Linked DNA regions of Homo sapiens: region 1 is linked to region 2. Evidence: promoter capture Hi-C in human tissues and cell types (Jung and others, 2019). All regions are on one chromosome and are shown on one strand. The core of a region is centred on a gene start or on the middle of the fragment in contact, and the rest is flanking DNA. Distances in the headings are between cores, read along the strand shown.

Region 1 (3,829 bases), core at 1,175-3,674, 160 kb after region 2:
AGACTCACTGCTCACTGGCCATAGGATCTCAGGCAGATCACTCAACCTCTCTCCATCTCAATTTTCTCACCTACAAAATGGGGATGGCCAGGCACAGTGGCTCGTGAATGTCATCCCATTACTTTGGGAGGCCAGGACAGGCAGATCGCTTGAGTTCAGAGTTGGAGATCAGCCTGGGCAACACGGCGAAACCCCGTCTCTACTAAAAATGTAAAAATTAAGGCCGGGCGCGGTGGCTCACGCCTGTAATCCCAGCACTTTGGGAGGCTGAGGCGGGTGGATCACCTGAGGTCAGAAGTTCGAGACCAGCCTGACCAACATGGTGAAACCCCGTCTCTACTAAAAAAAAAAATTTTTAATACAAATACAGATACAAAAATTAGCCAAGGATGGTGGTGCATGCCTGTAATCCCAGGATCACCTGAGCCCAGGAGATCAAGACTGCAGTGAGCCGTGATCGCACCACTGCACTCCCACCTGGGCGACAGAGTAAGACTCTTGTCTTGAAAATAAATAAATATAAAACAAATAAAATGGGGATAAAAATAGTACACACCTCATGGGACTGTTGTGGCTTGAATACGATGATGTTTGAAAAGTGCCTAGAACTATGCTTGGTATGGAGGAAGTATTGTGAGTGTTAAATATAATGGGGTTTTCCCCAGCACATGTAGATGAAACTTTGTTCTCAGCCCCTGCCCTCAGAGCCAAAGAGTAGTGGGCAGAGCTACATCCACAAGTGTGAGTGCATGAGGAGAAGGTGGGCACACGAGCACCCACACCCCCACTCACACACACTCATGCAAACCACACAGCAGTGGGGACCTTGGCAGCCCCCACCTAGCAGCTGCTGCCCCAAACAGGACCTTTCCAGGGTCCAGCCCTCACCTTTACCCAACAAGAAAGAGACGCTGTGGTGGTTTTCAGAGCCAGTCAGGGACTAGGGAGGGGTTCTTGAGGCCAGAACTCCCAGGAGTTGGGCAAGTCAGGGAGGCTAGGTGTTAGCCAGGAGAGCAGCATTAGAATATATCCAACTGGCCAGGTGCGGTGGCTCACACCTCTAAAACCAGCTACTGGGGAGGCTGAGGTGGGAGGATGGCTTGAGGCCAGGAGTTCGACGCTGCAGTGAGCTACGATCGTGCCATTGCACTCCAGACCGGGCGACAGAGCAAAACCCTGTCTCCAAAAAAAAAAAAAAAAAAAGAAGACATCATGCTGAGTGAAATTACCCAGATGCAAAAGATAAATATTGATTGTATGATTCTACTTATATGAGATTTATAGAATAAGTGAATTTTTTAATTAATTATTAATTTTAATTTTATTTTATTTATTTGTTTCTTTTTGAGACGGAGTCTCACTCTGTCACCCAGGCTGGAGTGTAGTGGAACGATCTCAGCTCACTGCAACCTCCACCTCCTGGGTTCAAGCGATTCTCCTGCCTCAGCCTCCCGAGTAGCTGGGATTACAGGCACGTGCCCCCCACGCCCAGCTAATTTTTGCATTTTTAGTAGAGATGGGATTTTGCCATGTTGGCCAGGCTGGTCTCGAACTTCTGACCTCAGGTGATCTTCCTGCCTTGGCCTCCCAAAGTGCTGGGATTACAAGCCTGAGCCACCGCGCCCGGCCATTTATTTATTTTATTCATTCATTTATTTATTTATTTATGAATGACAAGGTCTGGCTCTGTCACCCAGGCTGGAGTACAGTGGCACAATCTCAGCTCATTGCAATTTCCTTCTCCCAGGTTCAATCCATCCTCCCACCTCTGCCTCCCGAGTAGCTGGGACTACAGGCACACGCCACCATGCTGGCTAATTTTTTGCATTTTTTGTAGAGACAGGGTTTTGCCACGTTGCCAAGGCTGGTCTCAAACTCGTGAGCTCAAGCAATCTGCCCACCTCAGGCCTTTCAAGGTACTGGGATTACAGATGAGAGCCACGGCGCCTGGACTAGAATATGTGAATTTACAGAGACCAAAAGTAGAATAGAGGTTAGGAGGGACTGAATGGGGGCGAGTGAGAAATGGGGTCATTGCTTAATGGGCACAGAGTTTCAGTTGGGGATGATGAAAAAGTTTCACAGATGGAGGGTGGTAATGGTTGCACAACGTGAGTGCATTTAGTACCTCTGAGCTTTACACTTAAAAATGGTTAAATTGAGGCCAGGCGCAGGGGCTCGCACCTGTAATCCCAGCACTTTGGGAGGCTGAGGCAGGCGGATCACCCGAGGTCAGGAGTTCAAGACTGGCCTGACCAAAATGGTGAAGCCCCGTGTCTACTAAAAATACAAAAATTAGCCGGGCGCGGTGGCTCACGCCTGTAATCCCAGCACTTTGGGAGGCTGAGGTGGGCGGATTACGAGGTCAGGAGATCGAGACCATCCTGGCTGACATGGTGAAACCCCGTCTCTACTAAAAATACAAAAACAAAATTAGCCAGGCATGGTGGCAGGCGCCTGTAGTCCCAGCCACTCGGGAGGCTGAGGCAGGAGAATGGCGTGAACCCGGGAGGCACAGCTTGCAGTAAGCTGAGATTATGTCACTGCACTCCAGCCTGGGTGACAGAGCAAGACTCTGTCAAAAAAAATACAAAATACAAAAATTAGTTGGGCGTGGTGGCACATGCCTGTAGTCCCAGCTACTTGGGAAGCTGAGGCAGGAGAATCGCTTGAACTCGGCAGGCAGAGATTGCAGTGAGCCGAGATCGCGTCACTGCACCCCAGTCAGGGCGACAGAGCAAGACTCTGTTTCAAAAAAAAAAAAAAGGCTAAATTGTAAATTCTATATTATTTTACCACAATTAAAAAAAAAGTAAATGGGGTTATTGTAATATCAGAACAGTGACAACATTCTAGATTCCCAGCTTCAGAGGCTGGTTAAATAAATTATGGTACCTCCAGGCCAGGCGCCGTGGCTCATGCCTGTAATCCCAGCACCTTGGGAGGCCGAAGCAAGCGGATCACCTGAAGTCAGGAGTTCGAGACCATCCTGGCCAACATAGAGAAACCCCGTCTCTACTAAAAATACAAAATTAGCCGGGCGTGGTGGCACATGCCTGTAATCCCAGTTATTTGGGAGGTTGAGGCAGGAGAATCGCTTGAACCCTGGAGGCGGAGGTTGCAGTGAGCTGAGATCCTGCCATTGCACTCCAGCCTGGGCAACAAGAGCGAAACTCCATCTCAAAAAAAAAAAAATTAAATTAATAAATAAATCATGGTACCTCCCTACAATGGGGCACCAGACAGCCCTGTACATGATGTTAGTCTATGTTGATCTGAAAGACGTTCAGAATTTGATGGTGAAAAATAAACAAGAGCCTACAAAATCCATGTCCAGGATAATTCCATTCAGATAAAAATAATAAAACACATCAAAGACAAACTTGTGAACTGGCCAGTCATAGCTTATTTGGCTGCTTTTTCTCGTGAATTCTGATACAGAAGCTTATTGGGGGCCAGGCGTGGTGGCTCACACCTGTAATCCCAGCACTTTGGGAGGCCAGGGCGGGCAGATCACCTGAGGTCAGGAGATAGAGACCAGCCTGGCCAACATGGTGAAACCCCGTCTCTACTAAAAATACAAAAAAATTAGCCGGGCATGGTGGTGGTGCCTGTAATCCCAGCTACTTGGGTGACTGAGGCAGGAGAATCCCTTGAACCCAGTAGGCAGAGGTTGCAGTGAGCCAAGATCGCACCACTGCACTCCAGCCTGGGCAACAAGAGCAAAACTCCATCTCAAAAAAAAAAAAAAAAAGCTCATTTGAGATGATTTTTAGTGGAGACCCTTCCAGAGTGGCTCCCATCAGAGTTTAAATTTATGTCCTTTTTT
Region 2 (4,184 bases), core at 73-2,572:
CTGAGAGCCCCAGGGATTGCACCAAGGAGGGAGCAGGTGCAGGCTACACAGCCCCAGATCCTGGGAACCCAACCCGAGAGCACATGCCTGATCAGGATGGAAAATCCCACCCAAGGGCCACTGCACACACCATGGACACATTCTAACTGCTCTGGGTGGCCCATGCGCAAGGTAGTGACTGGTCCACGTCGGCCTCCGCCCTATCCCCACGTGGTGTGGGCCTCTGGCTAGTCACTGACCCGAGGAATCTAGACACGGCTCAAGGCGGGTTTCCACCTCTCTCCCTTCACGGTAAGGGATTTACCCCCTGCGATGGAGAGTTCCCAAAAGCCGCTGCTGATCGCGTCCCCCTCGACCCCCCTCCCCACCCATCCAGGGGCCTGAGTTCTCAATCTGAGTTAATCAATAACCAGAGCCGTCAGGCCTCAGTGAAGCGGCAACGCAGGGGAGCGTGAATGGAGGGTGGGGGTCAGGCAGGGGTGTCGACCATTCCAACATGCCCCGCGTGGCTCCAGGCAGTGCTGAACAGTCAGGGGCCGGACTTCGGCGCCCAAGCCGTTGATGTCATGGGACAGAGGAGAGAGGGAGACAGGACTCTGAGCAAACAGAGCCTGGCTCTAAAACAGGGCGGAGGACCAAGACAGGTGCAGCTGGCAGGCTCAGCGGTCCTCCCCCCGCCCTCTCCAACTCCGGAGGGGCGGCAGGACCCCCATCACCTAGTCCGAGCGGCCGGTGAAGGCCCCAACCCCGCAGACGCGAGCAGAGGCAGGCAGTCGGGGCGAAGGGGCGGCACCCGGTTCGGAGCCCCACTCCCTGGCGCCAGCGCACGCGCTCCCCCGGGCTCACCTGGCCGCGGCCGGACAGCGAGAAGGTGGCGTGGCTGGCGAAGCGTGCGCTGCCCAGGCGGGGCGCGCGGTCGGGAACCCCGGGCGCGGGCGGGGGGCTGGGCGTGCCGGGAGTGCCGGGCACCGGGGACATCCCGCTGGCCAAGCCCAGCGCCTCCACCTGGCGCGTCAGGCGCTCGAGCTGCGCCTGCAGCCGCTGGTTGTCCCGCTGCAGGTCGGCCACCGTGCGCGCCAGGGGGCCGGCCAGGCGCATCGCCTCTGCCACTCGCCGCTCCACGCCGCGCTGCAGCCCCCGCATGTCCTCGTGCAGCGCGCGCACCGCACCCTCCAGCGCCGCCTCGTAGCGGCCCAGCGCCTCGCGCACAGTGCGCGCCTCCTGGGCGTCGGGGGCCGGCTCCATGGCCCAGCAGAGCGCGCGGGTCGAGAGCGGGCCAGACGGGGGAGAAGATCCGAGCTCCGCAGCTCCGGGCCGCGACTGGCCGTCCGTGGCTGGCTTCGCTCGAGGGGCTGCCGGGGAGGCGGGCGCGGGGCGGGGCCTCGGGGGCGGAGCCGGGGACGACTCCGGGACACCCCCCTGCCCTGGAGCCCAGCGGGACGGTGCGGAGGGAGAGCTCGCCCAGCCTCTCCCCTCCCCGGCTCTTAACTGAGCCCTGCGACCCCGGAGGAGCGGCGTGCGGCCTGCGGGAGGGGCGGCGGGCCCACCCGAAGAAGGCCCTGGCCCCCCTGGACCGTAGAGAGCACACCCGGGCTGACGCGTTCGCTCGGGACTCTCACCCGCAAGGCCCAGGTTCCTCCGGGGGCGGAGACTCCCGGGCTAATGGGGACACCTACAGCTCCCACAGCTGCCGCCCCACTCCGCGGGGCCCTCCCTATGCAGCGGCCACGGCTCTCGCAGGCACACGCTCACCTGTGGGACCTTCGCCTGGAATTTCTTGTATCTGTTCTAAGACCTCAGGGAGGAGACAGGTGGTGAGGTCCCCTCCCTGACTCTGCGACTACGCGCTGTCCCCTCCCAGTCCTACTCTGTATAGCAAGATCTTCGTGCCCTTCCCACTAGTGGTCGGTAGAGGCTCCCGACCCACCAAGGGGCCTCCGTTAGGAGATCCTGGAGAGGCTAAGGGCAGACAGAGAAAGAAGGGTGTGCTGGAGCTGCATCTCCAAATCCTGGAATGGGCGGCTTTGCGACTAATCGCCCCCTCCCGCAATGAGAGTCTCAGTCACTGGCCTCTACCCGTAGGCCAGGGGTCTTACCCCTATTCCTTCTCAATGCTCTTTATGGCTGAACCCAGATAGTTCCCCCTTCCAAATGCACACCCCAAACCATCACCAGAAAAGGGAAGAAGGGAAACAGGTGTTGCTTTAGGACGATGGGATGATGGGCAAAGCTAACTCTAAGTTTTCGCTATATCATAAAGCTGATTTAAAATAAAAATGAGAACATATCCTCCTTTGTGCAAAAAACCTTTCCTAATTGGCCTTCTTTTTCCCAAGCCTGGCCTGCCTGAAAGAGGCCCAGAGGCTGGGCATGCATAGCCAGCTGACCTGCAGGAAGGAGAAGTCTGAAAGGCTTGTTCATATCATGTTCTGCTCCCAAGGTTGTTTGGAGCCCACAAACCCTCCTGGACTGGCCATCATTGCCCCAAAGGAACTGGAGCAGCCTGACAGATGCTAAATGCTGGTTCTCTCCCCCGCCCCCAGCCCCAAGGGGACAGGAAGGAACGCTGGGTTACCTAATCCAAGGAGCCTTCCAGCAATTATTTCATGAAAAAGGCAAATGCCAAAAGGTGTGCATGCTGCATATATGTGTGAGCATGTGTGTGCATTCCAGGTAGCCATCTGGACAGGGTGAGCCAAACTGCTCCCTGAATGCTTTCTCCAGGTGGAATCTTTAGTAGCAGCCTCCAGAGACGCTGCTGCTGCTCTTGCCGCAGACAGCACTCAAAGCCCCTCCAGGTCTCAGCACAAGAACCTGGAGTTCAAAAACCCTGGTCTCAGCCACAGAAGCCCAGTCCCTTCCCTTCTAAGATCCAAGGAAGGACCGTGTGGAGAAGCCTTGAGAGGGACTGGACAGGCTGGTCTCTAGGCTTCTCTCCATCCTCCGGGAGAAGGCAGGCTGGCTGGGCCATTGGTGGGAAGCCTGGCAGGGAGGAGGAGGTGACAGATCGTAGAGCCTGTGGCTGCCTGGGATCCATCCACACTCTCCAGCCTCAGGCTAGTTATCTGGTCTCTCCTGAGCCACATGGGAATCTCTAGGAGGAACTTCTCGGGGACGGGGCATGGCTGCTTCTGGGGCCGAAGGCGGGACTCTGTCAAGGGCAGAGATGGGGGCTCACTGTGGGTTCTGGGAAGGCAGATGGTACAAGACCATCCCCCTTGGCTCCTTTTTCTCAGCAGTCAGATCTCCGAGTCAGTAGCTGGAGATGCACCCAGGAGAGGAGAGAAGAGCCAGGAGCATGAGGAAGAGAGTGATTCTGGGGTGGGAAGGGGGCGGGATGGAGGGTCAGCACCACCCTCCGACCTGGCTCCATGACAGATGGACCGAGGCTGCAGCTCTGTTCCCAGGCCCAGGGGCTCCTGTGAGCCTTCCCTGCAGGCCCCTCCCCCACTCTCCTTTAGCTCCACTCCTGCCCAGTACCAGGCTGCGAGGGAGGTGAGGGCCCGTGAACCTGGCTGGACTCCCTGCACATTCACCAGCCCTGATGTCAGCAAGCAAGTGGAGGCCAACCTCCCACCAAGGCCTGGGGGCCCTGGCGCCTGCCCTTCCCACTCCAGTCTCCTGGCTCTGCCCCTACTGCTGCCCACCGTCGTCCTGCTCTGCTCTGAGTCTAGGCTGGATGCAGGATGCAGGACAAGCTTTCCCCAGCCCCCCTGCCAATGTCTCACAAAATCAAATCCACAGTTAGGGAAGTTACCATCTTTGGGCCTGAGGCGGGGAAACTGAGGCCCTAAGAGGGGCAGGGACTGGCCCAAGGCCACACAGCAAGGCATGCGGAGACAGTACTGGAACCTGGGCCCTGCCCCCACACCCAAGGTGCAGTACCCTCTTTCCTGCACGCCAGTCCCAGCTCACCTCCCAGTACAGCAGTCAGGTTCCACCAGGTCAGAGCAGCTCCTCCCTGCTCCCCGGATTGGCCGGAGGCCTTACTCCCCTGAAATTGCTCCTCAGAGGTCTCCAGTGCCCCCCATGGCCCTCGAGACCCCCCAGGACCACTCCCTCCTCCTCCTCACTTACGTGATTCTCCTCTTTCCCTCCCCAGTGACCTTCCTGACTGTGCTTCTGCTCCTCCCTTCACTGAGGTGGTCCCCAGGGCTCTGAGCTGGGCCTCCTCCCTCTCACCT

What was found. The method cuts DNA at HindIII sites, captures the fragments that hold promoters and counts their contacts. A contact is called where the count stands out against the background at its distance.
Region 1: a fragment that was not itself captured here is called in contact with the fragment with the promoter of SMTNL2 in region 2 in 2 of the 25 tissues and cell types used here (dorsolateral prefrontal cortex and lymphoblastoid cells).

Annotation. Positions count from the first base shown.
Region 1 is chr17:4,423,807-4,427,635 of GRCh38, reverse strand. No RefSeq gene overlaps it. Among named protein-coding and RNA genes, the nearest start is that of SPNS3, 8.2 kb to the left of the region's middle. The HindIII fragment of the contact is 7,432 bases long and covers 1-3,829 here.
Region 2 is chr17:4,581,667-4,585,850 of GRCh38, reverse strand. SMTNL2 (smoothelin like 2) reads right to left here and starts at 1,322. Exons shown (of 8, transcript NM_001114974.2): 1 at 847-1,322. The coding sequence starts at 1,245. RefSeq lists enhancers at 1-343, 964-1,583, 1,584-2,203, 2,996-3,569. The HindIII fragment of the contact is 15,336 bases long and covers 1-4,184 here.